Linked DNA regions of Homo sapiens: regions 1, 2, 3, 4, 6 and 7 are each linked to region 5. Evidence: promoter capture Hi-C in human tissues and cell types (Jung and others, 2019). All regions are on one chromosome and are shown on one strand. The core of a region is centred on a gene start or on the middle of the fragment in contact, and the rest is flanking DNA. Distances in the headings are between cores, read along the strand shown.

Region 1 (2,744 bases), core at 28-2,527, 430 kb before region 5:
CAATTTCTTTGTAAAGACATATGTTAAAAGATATTAACTGTAGCATTGTTAGTAGTGGTAGAAGAAAAAGAAAAACCAGAAACACAAGCAATGCCTATCAATAGGAGCATGCCTTTAAAAAATTTCAGTCACTGAAAATGATAAATTGTAACTCCATCAAACAACTTGGAGGGTTTTCAAATGAGGTACTGTTGAGTGAGAAAAGCAGGATGCAGAAAAATATGTAATATATGATCCCACTTTTTAAAAAAATCTATAAAACAAACTGTATATATATATATATATATATACACACATACATGTGTATATAATATAGTGTATGTGTATGCATGTATGTCATACATTATATAAGGATTATATAAGGACATATAAAAATATGGAAAGATGCATTCAATGTTGTTTTAAAGGCTGTTTAAGGGACAGAAAGGATGATGTAAAAGGAAAGAAGAAGAGGATAAAGCAAACAAAAAAAATTGCAATAAAAAGAGAACTTCATGATTTTAAAGGCATGCATTGATGAAATTATGTACATGTGAGTACATATAATTAAAATATACTTTTTTTTTTTTTTGAGACGGAGTCTTGCTCTGTCGCCCAGGCTGGAGTGCAGTGGCACGATCTTGGCTCACTGCAAGCACTGCCTCCTGAGTTCACACCATTCTCCTGCCTCAGCCTCCCGAGTAGCTGGGACTACAGGCACCCGCCACCACACCTGGCTAATTTTTTGTATTTTTAGTAGAGACAGGGTTTCACCGTGTTAGCCAGGATGGTCTTGATCTCCTGACCTCGTGATCTGCCCACTTCGGCCTCCCAAAGTGCTGGGATGACAGGCATGAGCCACCACATCTGGCCAAAATATACTTTTTAATATGTTCAAATATATAGGATTTAAAATATTTTAGAGAAAAATATGAATACATCAAGAGACAAAATTCTGCTTCTCTAGTGATCAAAGAATTCCAAGGTGAAAGAATGAGTTACCGTTTTTCCTTAGAAGATTAGAAAAGATTTTAAAAGTTGATAATACCCATTGATTGTGTGGATGTAGAGAATTAAACACTCTGGATGCTTTGTGCTTTGTGAATGTAAATTGTTAGAACCTTTCTGGAGCATACTCTGGCAATATTTATGAAAAGCCCTTAAATAATCAGTGTACAATCCTACAGAAAGGTATACAGAGAATAAGGATAGTCAGTAATATCAAGAAATTGTAAGCAAGTTACCTAAATGAAATAACATATGTAAAGTGCATAGCGCAAACTTGAAATATTATTAACATTCAACAAATGTTCTAAAACTGAGGGATTTGGTTAATCAATTGGTAGTTGATATGGTTTGGCTGTGTCCCCACCCAAATTTCATCTTGAATTGTAGCTCCCATAATTCCCACGTGTCATGGGAGGGACCAAGTGGGAGGTAATTGAATCATGAGGGCAGGTCTTTCCTGTGCTGTTCTCCTGATAGTGAATAAGTCACAGGAGATCTGATGGTTTTATGAAGAGGAGTTCCCCTGCACAAGCTTTCTCTTGCCTGCTGCCATCCACATAAGCTCTCTCTTGCCTGCTTGCTCCTCCTTGCCTTCCACCATGATTGTGAGGCTTCCCCAGTTGTGTGGAACCGTGAGTCAATTAAACCTCTTTCCTTTATAAATTACCCAGTCTCGAGTATGTCTTTATTAGCAACAAGAGAACAGACTAATACAGTAGTCAAGCTCAGGAGGAGAAAAAAATAATGAAATATTTAATAAATAGTACTAGCATCCTGGAATGGAAAACAATGCAAGTTTTTAAAATGATAATGCAGATCTATGTTCTGATTTAGAAGAACATGAACAAAACCCAAAATATTATTAAAGGGAAAAAGGAAATTGTAAAGCAGTATCTTTGAAAATGCATTTGCAATTACATTTTGTAGAAAAAAAACTGAAAAGAAGTGCCTGAAAATGTTAACAGTGGTTATCGCTGAATAGTGGAATTTTTGAGGTTCATTTCTTTTTTTCCATCTATGTTTTCTCATTTTTTTCACAATGAGAGTGCATTGTTGCATAATTTTTAAATTTTCCAAAGCATCACAGTGTGGATCAATGTTTAGAAAAGGGAGTCAGAATCCTAGCTCCTTAATGTAATAGCAATGTGACATTAGGCATTTTACTTTTAAAAATCTGTTTACACATCTGTTGATTAATGATACAGAACCAAAATAAGCCATCTCCTGGTCATTCCAAATCAACAGGCATTTGCCATACTTGAATCCACAGGCAGTGGGGAGGAGGGTGCATGCTGACATTAGCTCACACTAGCAAAACTTCATGTTGCTCAAACAGATATTCAAAAGACAGGCTCAGATGCAGGAACTTGTGTGGTTATTTTCAAATGTCTCATGACTTGAAAGAACAGGTGTTGGAGGAAACTGTGTCTACATACTTGCTAGGAAAGCATTCTCAGGTTTCTTTTCTAATCATGGAAAAGATGATACATTGATGGGACTGTTACCCCTACTTTCTGAAAACAGCCAAGCAACCAGATGCATGAAACCCATATTCAAGAGCAATGAAGTCATGGTTAAAAGTCCCAAGCATCCTAGCAATGAAGCTAAAAGAATTATATAACCTACAAGTCCCAACAAGTTTCCCCAGGTCCACCATGTACCTAATAAAACTTTTCTGAGGACCATTAAAAGACAATTCGAAGTTCATCTATCAGGACCTTTGGATCAACTCCAACAAAATACAGAATGTCCCTGAT
Region 2 (2,700 bases), core at 94-2,593, 490 kb before region 5:
ACTGAATCCATTTTGTCAGTGTAGTGGGAATATCATTAAACTGTAACTCATTTCACTGTCTTCTAGCTTTCAGACCCTCAAGTGCCTGAGTCCAGAACACCAGGAACTTGAAGCAGGGAGTGGTCCTAAACCTTCCCCCACCCACCACCCTCCTGGGTCGGGCTGTTTTTCACACTGTGACGTTACCCATTTTGTTATCATCAAGACCTTGTGATGGATGCTTGAGGCTCACAGAGTGCATGCCTGGAATCTGCAGGGCTCCTCCTTATCTGTCAATGCCTTAAACTTCCTGATGCTGACTGACATTCCTCATTTTGCCGAGTTTCAGTCCAGGTGCAGAGTATTTTTGGAAATGCAATCATATCAGGAGATGGTACTTTTTACATCAGTTGCCCCCTCAACATTAAGTACGTACCTGGCACCTTGCCACCTAATATGCAAGTAGCCACATTATTATGGAAACCACATGTTCATTAGCAAGGTTGGCACCAACACAACCTCCACTGTCCGAAGTTAATGTTATGTTCCATTATAGTCCAGACAACAGGACAGTGTAGGATACAGTTTGGGCATGAGAACAAGCAGTCCTGTTTGATGAAATCTGAGTCTTCAACTGTTAGAAATATGATCCAGTTTCTATCTTGACATACGTCTGCACTGATGTTTCAGAAAAGGACATGTTTTGAAAGAAAATACCATTCTTTTAGTGTTATCTTTGCAAAATTGTATTTAATTCTTTCTACCACTTTCACGGACAACCAGAATCCGCTGGCTTCTTGCTGGGCTAATCACTTCATCCCTAGAGATTCATGCAAGAGTATTTCACTTAATATAAAGGAGTGACTCAGAATCATTGCTTTCAATTGAGAAAGGCTGAGAGAGTCCTGAGAACAGTATTCTCTTCTTTTAGAAGCAGGGAGGAGGGGTGCTAAGATAAGGAGGGAGAGAAGGAAAAAAGAGAGGGGGAAAGAATATAAGAAGAAAAAGACTTGTGTATTCAAAATGAAAGCATCAATTCCATGCATTTTGTTTCATAAAATTTAATTCAGATTGCACAAGTTCTCAGGCTTTCAGACATTATGATGTACAATGTGTAATTAATCTCTTGCTCCATCCTGATAGAAAGGCATACTAGATTTTTTAAAACTTATTATTATCATTAATTATTATCCTGTGTGTGTCACATGTAGGTCAGAGAGCTTGGATTTTTCTGTATCCCTTACTGGTGAAGCAAACCCACTTTTTGCATGTATGCTTAACAAAGCTGCCAAAAGTATTTGTTTAAACCCATGAGTTGCATTGCTTTACAAAAGTTTCTTATAGCTCACATATGTTCAAGTCCTTTCTTATTTATATGTGGCAATCATAAGCAGAATTTCATGAATTAAGAAACCTAAGCGTGGGACATGGATTAAAGGATTTTTATGTTTGCTGCTGGAAATAGTGGCCTTGAAGGCCAGGTATTTTCCCCAGATGATCCATGAGGTATTATAATCTTCCCATGAATAGCTAGGTCTATTATAATAAAATATTTTGCAGAAATCTGAGGATGACCTAACCTCACCAGTTTCTCCCAAAATAAGCCATATTCCAACCAAAAATAAAGAGTATTTTTAGATCAGTGTAAAAGCAGCAGTCAATAAACTACGTTGGTGAGCAGACCATCCTACCAAGTTTCCTGACAAGTAATTTCTTGGACTTCTGAGGAGATGGATCTGAGCCAGTACTAGATTACCCAAAAGCAACACAAGTGTTTAGGCCCCCAACAAGGTGAGAACACTAAATGATGAGAAAATAACCTTTGTGAGAATTTGATACTTAATTTTTTATAAAAACTATTAAAATAATAACACGGAAAAAGAATAAAAGTTAAAGTATTTTTTACTATCTTGTACTTATCTGTACTTTCTATGCTTATTTCTAGTTTGTTATTATTTTTCTTTTAACTGGTGTTGGAGGGGAATATTCCTTATGGTGCTAGAGGCATTGCATAGTCATCTGGCAGCTCTGATCTGCTTACAGTCGTGAGACCTGAGAGGAAAATCCCTGACCTCTTGTTTCATAAACGTCCTCTTTCTTCCTGGACTCAGACGCCACCTCCATTTTGGGTCTTCCCAAGCCCTAACAGAGCAAGCAAAAATTTCAGTGATTCACTCCTGTTTTCTACTTCACATAAATTCAGTCCAAAACCATCTGAAGATAGAAACACAGCCTCCTTTTCTTGGTATAAGCAAAGGGTTAATGCTGACAAACGACGCGGTGAATGTGTCCCGTTCTGTGTGTGCTTGCACGTCTAGTCAGAACTGCTCTGCTCATGCTTGTTTCTCATATGACCTTTACAAGCAGCGAAGAAAGGCGTCCATTGTTTCCTTGCATCTCGTGGATTTAAAAACATAGTCCCCACAACAACTAAAAAGGCAAGTCAGGGAAGGAATGCCGAAAGCAAAAACAAAGTATTTCACCCCAGGAAAAGCCATATATAGTCAGTTATGAGATAGTGTTTGACTTAGAAATTGCACCCATATCTGTGAGATAGGTGGTGGACTGGATAGTTGTAAAATAAAGTTTGTATGCTCTCTTAGTCCCCACTCAGCTCCCTACAGTCTTCCTACAGTACTATGTAATTTTTATTTTTAAGCAAAAGATGGGGCTAAAAGTCAATCATGTGAGCCCACCTGACTGAATTGGTACCAAGGCGTA
Region 3 (2,719 bases), core at 106-2,605, 400 kb before region 5:
GTCATTTTTATCTGCTTCTATCAGTATAATTACATTGAATTTCACTCATGTTGCATGTGCTAATAGTTCATTTATTTTATTGATAAGTATCCCATTGTATAGCTATACCACCGTTTATTTATCCATTCATCTATTGATGGACACTGATGGACATATGGGTTGTTTCTAGTTTTTGACTATTAAAATAAAGCTTCTATGAATAATCATGTTCAGTCCTTGTATAGACCCATACTTTGATTGCTCTTCAGTAAATACCTGTAAAATGACTGGGTTATTTGCTATCTATATGTTTAGCTTTTAAAGAAACTAGCTATTTTCTAGAATGATTGTACCATTTTACACATCCATCAGCAGTACATGAGAGTTCCAGTTGCTTCCTGCCCTCGACTTGCTATGGTCAGTCTTTATTCTAACAGATGTGTAGTGCTATCTCAGTGTGGTTTTAATCTGCCCCTAAGGAATAATGATATTGAACATTTTTAATGCATTTATCTGCCATCCATATGTCCTTTATGGTAAAGTACCTGTTCTAATATTTTGCCCTATTTTACTGGTTTATTTGTTCTCTTATTACTATGTTAAGGGAATTCTTTATATATTCTGTATGCAAGTCTTATTAGATATGTGATTTGAAAATATTTTCTTCCAATAGGTGGATATTCTTCATTTTCTTAAGTTTCTTGCAAAGAATAGAGGTTCTTAATTTGAATGAAGTCCAATTTATATTTTTTTCTTTTATGGTTTATTCTTTTGGTATGGGATTTATAAACATTTTTCCTAATACCTTGTCACAAAGATGTTCTCTTCTGTTTCCTTCTAGAAATTTTATATTTTTAGATCTTGAAAGTAGGCCTATGATCTCTTTTGGATTTGGATATGTTGCAAGGTTTGAATCAAAGGAGTTTTCTGCTTTTTTTTTTTCCTGTTTTTATGAATGGATGATCAATTGTTAAGAAGACTATGCTTTCTCTGTTGAAGTGCCTTTAAACCTTTATAAAAGTCAATTCACCAGATACATGAGATGTATGTTTCCATTATATCTACTTATATATTGTCCATCTTGATACCATTACCACACTACCTTGATTACAATAGTTTTATGTCTCAAAATTAGGTAGTATGAGTCCCCCAACTTTGTTGTTTTTCAAAATTATCTTGGCTATTCTAAGTCCTTTGCATTTCTATATAAATTTTAGAATCATCTTATCAACTTCTACCAAAAAAAAAAAAAAAGATAAAAGAAAAAAAAAGCCTTCTGGGATTTTCACTGGGAATGCTTTGAATTTATACATCAATTTGGAGACAACTAACAATATTGATTCTTTCATTCCAAGAATTCAGAATATTGTTCCATTTATTTATATCTTCTTTAGTTTTTCTTAGCAATGTTAAGTAGTTTACAACAGGGATCCCCAGCCCCTGGGCCACGTGGACCAATACTGGTTCATGGCCTGTTAGGAACCAAGCCACACAGCAGGAGGTGAGCAGTGGGCGAGCAAGGGAAGCTTCATCATATTCACAGCTGCTCCCCACTGCTCACATTACTGCCTGAGCTCCGCCTCCTGTCAGATCAGCGGCGGCACTGGAGCCTCACAAGAACGCAAACCCTATTGTGAACTGCACATGGGAGGAATCTAGGTTGCATGCTCCTTATTAGAATCTAATGCCTGCCTGATGATCTGTCACTGTCTCCCATCAACCCCATATGGAGTCCCATATAAGCTTGTAGGAAAACAAGCTCAGGGCTTCCACTGATTCTACATTATGGTGAGTTGTAAAATTATTTCATTACATATTACAATGTAATAATAATAGAAATAAATTGCAAAATTAATATAATGTGCTTGAATCATCCTGAAACCATCCCCCGACCGCCCCTGGTCTGTGGAAGAATTGTCTTCCACAAAACCTGTCCTCGGTGCCAAAAACATTGGGGACTGCTGGTTTACAATATACAGATATTACGATTATTTTTAGCAACTTCTTTTATATCCATATTATTTCTCTATACAGATTATATCTAAAAGTAGCAGGTCACTAATACTTCTCCTGTGTCTTCACTGGGCCTCCATTTCCTCATCTGTGAAGACAGAATAAAAACAACTGCTGCCAAAGTTGGGCACAAAATTGCATGTGTAAGGCACCTAACATTTGTGCCTATTGCACAATGCTGCTGGTCTGATTACAGAGTTAATAAGTTTTGTTTAATAAAAGGATGAAGAGGGAAATAGAGGAGTCATAAGGGTGAGGCAACAAAGTGTGGGTTCAAAGCAAGAGGCATCCAATCTGATAAGATTGAGCCTAAAAACAAAACAAAACAAAACAAAACAAAACCCAATGACCACAACAGCACTAATTGCTCAGAAATTAACCCGAAGACTCAGATAGCCAAATGAGGTGGTGTGGTGGAAGCAGTTGTAATGCTCCTGGCTAGACAGAGAATACATAGTAAGAATCTGTTGTGTGCACATACATTAAGAAATTAACAGGTGATGTTCCAGTTATAGGAATGGGAGCAACCAACAGAAATTTAGCCAGGAAAGGAGCTTGAGTATGTAGCACTGAATACTCTCTGCATATCTGGGTAGACTGTAACCTTGTCCATGTCCAGATAAGAACTAAATAAAGCTGACTCGTGATGCTTCTTAACCTCTATTCATCTGCTGATATAAGGGAGTCCATAACCCACCAGGAAAGGGGGCTCCACCCACTCAGAGTG
Region 4 (2,700 bases), core at 164-2,663, 510 kb before region 5:
CAATCAGGCAGGAGAAGGAAATAAAGGGTATTCAATTAGGAAAAGAGGAAGTCAAATTGTCCTTGTTTGCAGATGACGTGATTGTATATCTAGAAAACCCCATCATCTCAGCCCAAAATCTCCTTAAGCTGATAAGCAACTTCAGCAAAGTCTCAGGATACAAAATCAATGTGCAAAAATCACAAGCATTCTTATACACCAATAACAGACAAACAGAGAGCCAAATCATGAGTGAACTCCCATTCACAATTGCTTCAAAGAGAATAAAATACCTAGGAATCCAACTTACAAGGGATGTGAAGGACCTCTTCAAGGAGAACAACAAATCACTGCTCAATGAAATAAAACAGGATACAAACAAATGGAAGAACCTTCCATGCTCATGGGTAGGAAGAATCAATATCGTGAAAATGGCCATACTGCCCAAGGTAATTTATAGATTCAATGCCATCCCCATCAAGCTACCAATGACTTTCTTCACAGAATTGGAAAAAGCTACTTTAAAGTTCATATGGAACCAAAAAAGAGCCCGCATTGCCAAGTCAATCCTAAGCCAAAAGAACAAAGCTGGAGGCATCACGATACCTGACTTCAAACTATACTACAAGGATACAGTAACCAAAACAGCATGGTACTGGTACCAAAACAGAGATCTAGACCAATGGAACAGAACAGAGCCCTCGGAAATAATGCCACATATCTACAACCATCTGATCTTTGACAAACCTGACAAAAGCAAGAAATGGGGATATGATTCCCTATTTAATAAATGGTGCTGGGAAAACTGGCCAGCCATATGTAGAAAGCTGAAACTGGATCCCTTCCTTACACTTTATACAAAAATTAATTCAAGATGGATTAAAGACTTAAATGTTAGACATAAAACCATAAAAGCCCTAGAAGAAAACCTAGGCAATACCATTCAGGACATAGACATGGGCAAGGACTTCATGTCTAAAACACCAAAAGCAATGGCAGCAAAAGCCAAAATTGACAAATGGGATCTAATTAAACTAAAGAGCTTCTGCACAGCAAAAGAAACTACCATCAGAGTGAATAGGCAACCTACAGAATGGGAGAAAATTTTTGCAATCTACTCATCTGACAAAGGGCTAATATCCAGAATCTACAATGAACTCAAACAAATTTACAAGAAAAAAACAAACAACCCCATCAAAAAGTGGACGAAGGATATGAACAGACACTTCTCAAAAGAAGACTTTTACGCAGCCCAAAGACACATGAAAAAATGTTCATCATCACTGGCCATCAGAGAAATGCAAATCAAAACCACAGTGAGATACCATCTCACACCAGTTAGAATGGCGATCATTAAAAAGTCAGGAAACAACAGGTGCTGGAGAGGATGTGGAAAATAGGAACACTTTTACACTGTTGGTGGGACTGTAAACTAGTTCAACCATTGTGGAAGTCAGTGTGGCGATTCCTCAGGGATCTAGGACTAGAAATACCATTTGACCCAGCAATCCCATTACTGGGTATATACCCAAAGGATTATAAATCATGCTGCTATAAAGACACATGCACATGTATGTTTATTGTGGTGCTATTCACAATAGCAAAGACTTGGAACCATGCCAAATGTCCAACAATGTTAGACTGGATTAAGAAAATGTGGCATATATACACCATGGAATACTATGCAGCCATAAAAAAGGATGAGTTCATGTCCTGTGTAGGGACATGGATGAAGCTGGAAACCATCATTCTCAGCAAACTATGGCAAGGACAAAAAACCAAACACCACATGTTCTCACTCATAGGTGGGAATTGAACAATGAGAACACATGGACACAGGAAGGGGAACATCACACACCAGGGCCTGTTGTGGAGTGGGGGGAGGGGGGGAGGGATAGCATGAGACGATATACCTAATGTTAAATGACGAGTTAATGGGTGCAGCACACCAACATGGCACATGTATACATATGTAACTAACCTGCACGTTGTGCACATGTACCCTAACACTTAAAGTATTAAAAAAAGTTTTATAGTAAATATATTATTTTTCTGATAATAGTAAGATAGTTAAACTATTATATATGTAATACTATTATATGTAGTAATATATATATACTTGGTAGAATATTATGGAGTCATTAAAAAGAATGTTATACAAGAATTTATGATAATATTAAGAAATACTTACGTTAAAAGAGTAGATGTTAAATTATATATATGGTAGGATGCCAAATTATAAATTGAATAATAACTACACCTGGAAAAAGACAGGATGAAAAGACACTAAAATATTAGTATCTTTGAATAGTGATAGTACGGACATTATTGATATTACCTATAATAAACATGTACTATTTATAATGCAAAGAATGACCTTATTTTCACACTAAAAGAAATGAGAAAAAATATACTTCTCATTCCATTGACCCAATTCTCACCTAAGCCTCAATTGTTCACTAGTTGGTTTGTATTTAATAAACACAATTTTTTTGTTCATTTAAGGGCATTATTTTAGAACTTAAATTATTGGCAAACATGTCTCCCAAAAACTGTAGCAAGGAGACCAGGTTAACAAATAAGCAATCCTAATTTCTTACTGGCTTAACAGAATAAGAAAGAATTTTAAAGAATGTATCCCCCCATCCCTTCCCGTTCCCCAAGGAGCTAAATAGGGCTTTAGATCCCTGGGGTTTCCCTCCCTTGGAAAGGGACAATCAA
Region 5 (2,700 bases), core at 83-2,582:
TGAACAAAAGCTGTGACAGAATTAAGGCCAGATAACCTATCATAAATGTATAGAATGAACAGAACAGCCCGGTTTTAGGAAAGGACTTCCCAGGGAGGTTTAGTAAGCCAGCTGGGAGAAAGGAAAAAAAACGTATTTTTAGGGAGGGATAGGGACGCTCCCATTGTGCAAGAAGGAAGTATAGCCGGTTAACAGCTCCATCAAGTTCTACTAGAAGGAGTGCCTATGTAAATGAAATTCTGCTTTTAAAGTGCCTATTATATAAAGGTCTCTAGAAAACTCAAGCCCTGTTCTACAAGCCCTAGCAGCCTGACAATTCACTAAGCATAGGAGAAGGGAAAAAAAAGTAGGAAAAAAGTGTGGAAGCCCCTTTCTTCCTTTGTAATATGAATGTTTGGCTATATTTAAGATAAATACCACATAAATAATTGCTAAACGTGAATTCTGTTTTTCTAAGTTTTAACAAAATATGCAAAGAACAAAGACCACCAATGAAAGTGGATGGGAACATACGTATTCTACACACAGTTCCATTTTGGAAGGTTCTAGGGCCTATTGAAATTGGGTGTTTAAAAAAAAAAGATAACACAGGAAAATTATTGTAGTTTACCTCTGTCTCCTACAAGCTGATGTATTTGGCAGGGTTACTATTTCCCAGGGCAAAGCAGGTCTTTTTTTTCACGTTTTGACTAACGAACTAGAGGCTACTGCAAAGAAAGAAGAAAAAGAACAGTATTAACGCATTTATTTGCACAGCACCCCAATCTTGACCCTCAATTTTTTCAATCGCCCCCACAAATAAAGCCCGGCTGTTTAGACCTGGTGAACCGCCAGGAGCCTGGAGCTCTTTGTATTAAGCAGCTTCTCGGTTAGGGCGCCCTCCCCCGGCGCCATGCAACCAAACGCTGGCGGCGCGCTGTAACCTAAGGCCCACACCCGTCTTTTCTTTTCTAGGGGATGTGGAGACGCTGGTAGCGGGGCCAGGAAGGCTCCGGACGGAGCAGGTTTTCTGGACCACAGACACACTGCCCCGGCGCCCTCCGCAGGCCGCTCCTCCCCAGGCCCATGACAGTGCCCCGCTGGTTTCTGCCGCGCTGCCGGACTGGAGCTCAGACGGCCTTCGCCAGCCCCCCCAACCCACGCAGATCCCTGCTGACCTGGGCAACTCCCCACCCTCGCTGAAGGTTCGAGGACCACCCCGCTTTCCCGAGAGGAGCCGGGCGGCGGGTACTTATCTCCGACCTCCGGCTAGTGGGAAAGGCCGCGCGACCGCCCGTCCTCCAACTACAGGGACCGCACGGTACGCGCCAAGCACAGCCCCAAAATGGACTCGCGGCTCCGGCTAGCTCCGCCCCCTTCCCTCTCCCGCTTCCCCTTCCCCTCCCGTCCCTTCCCCCTCCCCTCCCGTCCCTTCCCCCTCCCCTCCCGTCCCTTCCCCCCTCCCCCTCCCTTTCCCCTCCCCCTCCCCCTCCCTTTCCCCTCCCCCTCCCCCTCCCTTCCCCGTCGCCCGCCTCCGCCTGCACCTCCGGCCCCGCCTCCCCGTCCCGCTTCGCCTGTGTCCCGCCTCCCCGGCCGCGCCTCGCCTTGGCGGAGGGAGCCGGGTGGTGAGACCGCGTTCCTTCCGGCGTCTCCAACCGCCGCCTGCTCCCGCCGTCCACCCGCGCGGGCCGCCTGGGACGGGGAGGGCCGGGCTGCGGGCTTTTCTCCCTTCCAGAGTCCTGCGCCCGCCCAAAGCCCCCCCGCAGAGGCTGGGCAGCGGCTCCGGGAAGTGGACGCCGTTTGCCCAGACGGTGGGCTCGACTGAAGCGGCGCGGTCCCGGGTGGGGCCGCCCGGGAAGAAAGTCTCCCAGTTAAGCTGCCGTGCAATTAAGATGGTTGGGTTTGGATTGTTGTACTTTTTTTTTTGTTCGTTGCATTTTTAGGAACAAAAAAAAAAGCCCAACCCTTCACACCACTTCATCCGCATCTCAAGACCAGAAGCCGACCCCAGCGGCTTGGGGAAATGGAGCCCCGCACCCCACAAGGGGGAGGGTGGGACGGGCACCTCCGCACTGCGCGGCCTGCGGAGTCACCGATTCGCGTTGGGAGCGCGCCAGGAGCGCCAGGGCTCTAGCCGGGGGCTCCGGGCAAGGCGCAACCAGAAAAGGGTTCAGTATCCCCCATCACCCCCACCCCCAACCGTACCCTCTTTCTTTGCGGGCTTTAGGCAGGACACCAGAGACCCAATTCTATTTAAAATTCTCTTTTAAGAAAAGGAACGCCTGTTTTTGCCTTTGGGGGAAAGGATGAACTTTCAAATTGGCTTTAAATTATCCACCACTAACAGTTACTCAGTCGATAACCTGACTATTCTGACGTCCACCTCCCGTTTGAGGACCTTGCCCAATAGCAAACGTACTAAGCACTTAACCAGTGAACGGTGTGAAGGATGCAAACATGGATGATGAAGGAATGGCTCCTCCAGAATTTACGATCTTGGGAGAAGTGAGGCGAGTATAGAATCTCAGAACACGCTGTAGGATTGAGTTCGATCCCAGTTGAGGAAGTTTGGGTTTGGGGAGGAAATAGGTTATTTTGGAGAAACGGTATTCAAAACCTACCATAAATAGCAGTACAGCCCGTTGACTAATAATGCTTAGCCCAACCCCCGTAAAAAGCCCCTGGCCACATCCGTCTCCTGAGATTCCCACTTCTCTGTGT
Region 6 (2,700 bases), core at 61-2,560, 410 kb after region 5:
GACGGCACGGCTGGCCGGGCGGGGGGGCTGACCCCCCACCTCCCTCCCAGATGGGGCGGCTGGCCGGGCGGGGGGCTGACCCCCCCCACCTCCCTTCCGGACGGGGTGGCTGCCGGGCGGAGACGCTCCTCACTTCCCAGATGGGGTGGCTGCCGGGCGGAGAGGCTCCTCACTTCTCAGACGGGGCAGCTGCCGGGCGGAGGGGCTCCTCACTTCTCAGACGGGGTGGTTGCCAGGCAGAGGGTCTCCTCACTTCTCAGACGGGGCGGCCGGGCAGAGACGCTCCTCACCTCCCAGACGGGGTCTCGGCCGGGCAGAGGCGCTCCTCACATCCCAGATGGGGCGGCGGGGCAGAGGCGCTCCCCACATCTCAGACGATGGGCGGCCGGGCAGAGACGCTCCTCACTTCCTAGATGTGATGGCGGCTGGGAAGAGGCGCTCCTCACTTCCTAGATGGGATGGCGGCCGGGCGGAGACGCTCCTCACTTTCCAGACTGGGCAGCCAGGCAGAGGGGCTCCTCACAGCCCAGACGATGGGCGGCCAGGCAGAGACACTCCTCACTTCCCAGACAGGGTGGCGGCCGGGCAGAGGCTGCAATCTCGGCACTTTGGGAGGCCAAGGCAGGCGGCTGGGAGGTGTAGGTTGTAGTGAGCCGAGATCACGCCACTGCACTCCAGCCTGGGCACCATTGAGCACTGAGTGAACGAGACTCCGTCTGCAATCCCGGCACCTCGGGAGGCCGAGGTTGGCGGATCACTCGCGGTTAGGGGCTGGAGACCGGCCCGGCCAACACAGCGAAACCCCGTCTCCACCAAAACCAGTCAGGCGTGGCGGCGCGTGCCTGCAATCGCAGGCATTCGGCAGACTGAGGCAGGAGAATCAGGCAGGGAGGTTGCAGTGAGCCGAGATGGCAGCAGTACAGTCCAGCTCCGGCTCCGCATGAGAGGGAGACCGTGGGGAGAGGGGAGAGGGGAGAGGGGAGAGGGGAGAGCGGAGAGGGCCTTTTAAGTTCTTAGAAGGCAGCAGTCAATACTCAACTCTTGAAATCACTATGATGGATTAGTAAATTGCTCCTACTCTGTCTCTTCATAGCCATCACTCTTCTTTTCTAGAATTCTTTTTTGGTATTTCCTGGCTCTTCTCACATATAAACATTAGAATAATTTTGTTAAGTTTTGAAAACAAGAAAAAATGGTAATTGCATTGAAATTAAAGATTAGGCCTGGCGCGACTAGTCATTTGTTGCAGGCTGCCCCTATAAGGTGACTGGACCTTGAATAAGGCAGCTTTCTTTAGCAAGACAGTCACTGAAGAAGGCTGTCAGCATACAAGCTTCCCAAAAGCTGGGGGAATAAATCCTTCAGTCTTAAAGGAGAGATTGGGTAATGCAGCATAACATTTATAAAAGAGAACATTACTGTTTTAATCACCAAGGTACACCCAGACCTTATTACAGTGCCTAGCACATGGCAGGCATTCAAAAGATCTTTATGAATAAATAAATTACTGAAATATCCTGCTTTCTTAGTTTGAAATATAAAGGGCACATCTCATCCCACCTTACAACATTTTGCTATGAAAATTTCAAAGTTTAGCCGGACGTGGTGGCTCTCATCTGTAATCCCAGCACTTTGGGAGGTCAAAGTGGGTGGATCACACATAGTGAAACCCCATCTCTACTAAAAATACAAAAATTAGCCAGACGTGATGGTGCACACCTGTAATCCTAGCTACTGGGGAGGCTGAGGCATGAGAGTCACTTGAACCTCAGAGGTGGAGGTTGCAGTGAGCTGAGATCACGCCACTGCAGTCCAACCTGGGCAAGAGAGCGAGACGCCATATCAAAAAAAAAAAAAAAAAAAGAAAGAAAATTTCAAAGTTTAAATAAAAGTATAAATAATAGCTCCTCGATTTAACAATTGCAAACATTTTGCCATATTTTCTCTTTCTTTATGGACATGGATATATACAGTATTAATTTTTTGTGTGAACCATTTGCAGACCTCATTACACTCTGTCCTTAATTATTCTGGTACACATCTCATAAAAATAGGGACATTCTTTCTTTGTTTTTTTGTTTTGTTTGTTTGTTTTTTTGTTTTTTGAGACAAGGTCTTGCTCTGTTGCCCAGACTGGAGTGCAGTGGTGCAATCATAGCTCACTGCAGCCTTGACCTCCTGGACTCAAGCAATCCTCCCACCACAGCTTCCCGAGTAGCTGGGATCACAGCTGTGTGCCATCTTGCCTGGCTAATTTTTGGTAGAGATAGGGTTTCGTCATGTTGCCCAGGCTAGTCTCAGACTCCTGGGCTCAAGCAATCCTCCCGCCTTAGCCTCCCAAAGGGCTGGGATTACAGGCATAAGCCACCATGCCCAGCCAGGATGTTCTTAATATTACTATTACCACATCTAAAAAACCCAGTAATCTCCTAATACTATCTAATATCCAGTCCATATTAAATTTCTGATTCTTTACAAAATATTATTTATAGCTTAAAAAAATTGGAACCAAGGGGCTGGGCGTGGTGACTCACACCTGTAATCCCAACCTTTTAGGAGGCCAAGGCCAGAGGATCTTTTGAGCCCAGGAGTTTGAGGCTGCAGTGGGCTGTGATGGTGCCACTGCACTCCAGGCTGGGTGACAGAGTGAGACCCCCATCTCTTAAAAAATAAAATTGGAACCAGGATTCTACCTAAGGT
Region 7 (2,746 bases), core at 164-2,663, 410 kb before region 5:
TACTGGCTCACTGTTGGCTGCATAATCTGCCTTTAAGCACTTTCTCCTCTGCAAAAACCCCAGAACTCCTTTAAGAGCCATGTCTCAGCACACAAAACTTTCAAGTGACTCACCCTTCCCTCCCGCTTCCCTGGCCCAGCCCCACAGCCCCTCACACCAGCCATGCAGTCTTTGACCTTTCCTGATAACCCACTCACAGTTCATTCTGCCTGCAGGGCAGACAAGAAACGCACAGGGGCAAGATTACTGAAGCTTTGACAACATTCATAAAAAGAATGGACATAGTCAACCCCCTTGCACACTTCTGAACCTTTGCCTGTGTGGCTGCCTCCACCAGGAATGCCCTGGCTGACTTTGCCTGGCGAATGACTCATTGTGATTCGCAGCTCAGTTCAACTAGGGCTTTTTGGTGACAGCTTTCCCTGACACCCCTTCCCTTGCTGAATGAGGTGGTCCATCCTCTGGCATGGGGCAGAGCATCCCATACATCCTGCTCCCACTCCAACCTATTGCACTGGTATCCAATAGAAGGCAACATGTGTCACTGTGTCTCCCGCACCAGCCTGCAAGCCCCTTTAGGCAGGGCCTTGGTCATGTTCTTGTATCCCCAGCCCCTGGGATACTGACTTTTATATGGAAGGGACTCAGCAAATGTTTACTGAATAAAAGAATAATGGCAGCAATCCAGAAAATTCCTGACTGTGCCCAGACTGAAGGGCTCCAGTTGCTTCTCCATGAACAAAAAAGAGAACCTCAGGAAATGGCCAGTTGAAAGTTTTCAGATCTTTCAACCAACAAGAGCTGATGGTAAGGATGTCCAATGGACTGTACGAACATGAAGGAGGAAAATGCATGCTTTCTCAAGCTGGGCCTGAAGTCTTGCTATTAGAATTAGAGAAATACGAAAGTGATAAAGGAGACCACCCAAGAGAAGGGAATTTGGGTTACTGCAGTGAATAGGAGACTGAAGGGTGAGTACTCTCCACTCTGAAAGACGGCAGGTGAACGAAAGGCCAGGATCTAGGTGAGAAACCAGGGAAGGGGAAAGTGGGACAAGGATTTATTTGTCAAATTACAGCACCCTAGAATGGCAAAGGGTCTCTTGAAGATAAAAAGAGGTACATTCAGGAAAAATTTTAAGACTCTCCCCATGTGAGCAGATTAGTTTAAAAGACAAGCACAGAAGGGATTGAGGCCCACAGAAAGAAGGAACCCCATGTGGTGCTCATTTGAGTTGAACAAAGGGACCTGCACTGATGAATATATATGGGACTGGTCCCGTACCTAAGTTCCCATCCAGAAGAGAAGTCAGAGGAAACCAGAGAACTTCAGAAGAGCTTGGTGAGCGCCAACGGGCTCACACACACAGGGCTGTGGGAGCCTACAGCCCACAGTCCGCAGCTCTGAGAAACACATTGTGTTCCGCCTGTGGGGCAGTGTCCTCACAGCAATCCAGGTGTGTTTGAAGGAGAACGCCTAGCAGCAGCTGAAATAACCAAAAACAAGGTGGTAAATGGCTGTCCTGGGCCAATACAGGGACAAATTGGCAAAGTAGAATGTTCCTCGCAGAGCTCTCCAAATGTTTGAGAATTCTACCACCTCTCCTGAGGTGCCCTGGAAAAGGCGAAGTGGAAAGGTAGAGCCTGTTAAAATTTTATATGGTTTCTGAGGCATCTTAATTTTTAATAAAAAGTTCTTAATAATGTTCTGGATAAAAGACTGTGGTACTTAAAAGATTCTTTTTATAATGCCAAACTCTTTGTGCAATGTATGTATATATTTTTTAAAAGACCATAGTCTGGCAAATACTGACAGCCTGCAACACATACCACATTCTCCTTCCGCTTACTCCACCACCTCATACTGTGGCCAAGGGCAAATCCATTCAATTCTCTGGCCTGACTTAGCTTCACTTCAAGGTGAGGAGTTTAAAGTGAAATGTAACACAGTGGTAGTTTCCAACAGCCTTTGCCACTGAAATGTGTTCATCCAGCTGACGTTGTTTAACCCTGGCTTTTGGTACATTCTGGAAGGCCCAAGCATGTGAAGAGACATGCATCTGAGGCACATTTCCAGGGATGAAGGCTATCTGGGGGTCGGCAGTCCCAAATGAATAAGACAGCTACTAGTAAGTGGAGGATGGAATCCTTGACACTCTCCTCTCCTTCAGTTAGTGCTTCACAATTTTTAAAGTGCCTTCTTTGAGGCTTGGAGAAGTTGTTTGATTCACCAAGATTCTGCAGCTTTGTGCCAGGGCCAGAAACTTCACAGACTTTCTTCCTGTAGGGTGAGGCTCTGAAGACAACCTCACTGCAACACCTGTGGCCCAGGTTGGTTCAACAGTGAAGTGTACCGAGGAGCAGCTCAACTCTGCAGCTGTTCGGAAGTGGCCCTCAAGCTAGACTCAGAGGAGGAAGAGACCAGAGGAAACTGTCATAGCAAAGGCATCAATGCAGGATGGATTGAGCACTGTGTTCAAAGAACACAGTGCTTCCTTAGCCTTCCTCAGCACAGGAAAGAGGTGGTCCCAGAGCATGATTGGGAATGAGAAGTGGAAAGCCAGGTTGTAGAAGACCAAACATTTAATTTTTAATTTTTTTTTTTTTTTTTGTGGATACAGAGTCTTGCCATATTGCCCAGGCTAGTCTCAACCTCCTAACCTCAAGCGAACCTTGGAACCTGGCTACAGGCTCACACTGCCATGCCCACCTTCCCCAACTTGGCCAAACATTTTAGGAAGAGAACA

Evidence for each region. Contacts are between HindIII fragments. The study calls those that stand out against the background at their distance.
Region 1: a contact is called between a fragment that was not itself captured here and the fragment with the promoter of TRIM13 in region 5, in 1 of the 25 tissues and cell types used here (adrenal gland).
Region 2: a fragment that was not itself captured here is called in contact with the fragment with the promoter of TRIM13 in region 5 in 1 of the 25 tissues and cell types used here (dorsolateral prefrontal cortex).
Region 3: a fragment that was not itself captured here is called in contact with the fragment with the promoter of TRIM13 in region 5 in 3 of the 25 tissues and cell types used here (dorsolateral prefrontal cortex, hippocampus and mesenchymal stem cells).
Region 4: a contact is called between a fragment that was not itself captured here and the fragment with the promoter of TRIM13 in region 5, in 1 of the 25 tissues and cell types used here (lymphoblastoid cells).
Region 6: a fragment that was not itself captured here is called in contact with the fragment with the promoter of TRIM13 in region 5 in 1 of the 25 tissues and cell types used here (IMR-90 fibroblasts).
Region 7: a fragment that was not itself captured here is called in contact with the fragment with the promoter of TRIM13 in region 5 in 2 of the 25 tissues and cell types used here (IMR-90 fibroblasts and mesenchymal stem cells).

The regions. Positions count from the first base shown.
Region 1 is chr13:50,428,314-50,431,057 of GRCh38, reverse strand. The region is part of intron 3 of DLEU1 (deleted in lymphocytic leukemia 1); the gene reads right to left. Among named protein-coding and RNA genes, the nearest start is that of DLEU1-AS1, 98 kb to the left of the region's middle. The HindIII fragment of the contact is 5,811 bases long and covers 1-2,744 here.
Region 2 is chr13:50,484,273-50,486,972 of GRCh38, reverse strand. The region is part of intron 4 of DLEU1 (deleted in lymphocytic leukemia 1); the gene reads right to left. Among named protein-coding and RNA genes, the nearest start is that of DLEU1-AS1, 42 kb to the left of the region's middle. The HindIII fragment of the contact is 3,390 bases long and covers 1-2,700 here.
Region 3 is chr13:50,392,638-50,395,356 of GRCh38, reverse strand. The region is part of intron 3 of DLEU1 (deleted in lymphocytic leukemia 1); the gene reads right to left. Among named protein-coding and RNA genes, the nearest start is that of DLEU1-AS1, 130 kb to the left of the region's middle. The HindIII fragment of the contact is 4,618 bases long and covers 1-2,719 here.
Region 4 is chr13:50,502,351-50,505,050 of GRCh38, reverse strand. The region is part of intron 5 of DLEU1 (deleted in lymphocytic leukemia 1); the gene reads right to left. Among named protein-coding and RNA genes, the nearest start is that of DLEU1-AS1, 24 kb to the left of the region's middle. The HindIII fragment of the contact is 5,430 bases long and covers 1-2,700 here.
Region 5 is chr13:49,995,674-49,998,373 of GRCh38, reverse strand. TRIM13 (tripartite motif containing 13) reads right to left here and starts at 1,332. Exons shown (of 2, transcript NM_213590.3): 1 at 611-1,332. DLEU2 (deleted in lymphocytic leukemia 2) reads left to right here. Exons shown (of 14, transcript NR_152566.1): 11 at 955-1,300. MIR3613 (microRNA 3613) reads left to right here and starts at 1,873; the gene lies at 1,873-1,959. RefSeq lists silencers at 1,596-1,725, 2,316-2,365 and an enhancer at 1,906-2,035. The HindIII fragment of the contact is 11,924 bases long and covers 1-2,700 here.
Region 6 is chr13:49,590,437-49,593,136 of GRCh38, reverse strand. No RefSeq gene overlaps it. Among named protein-coding and RNA genes, the nearest start is that of RCBTB1, 6.2 kb to the right of the region's middle. The HindIII fragment of the contact is 3,491 bases long and covers 1-2,700 here.
Region 7 is chr13:50,408,987-50,411,732 of GRCh38, reverse strand. All of the region lies in intron 3 of DLEU1 (deleted in lymphocytic leukemia 1), which reads right to left. Among named protein-coding and RNA genes, the nearest start is that of DLEU1-AS1, 120 kb to the left of the region's middle. The HindIII fragment of the contact is 4,437 bases long and covers 1-2,746 here.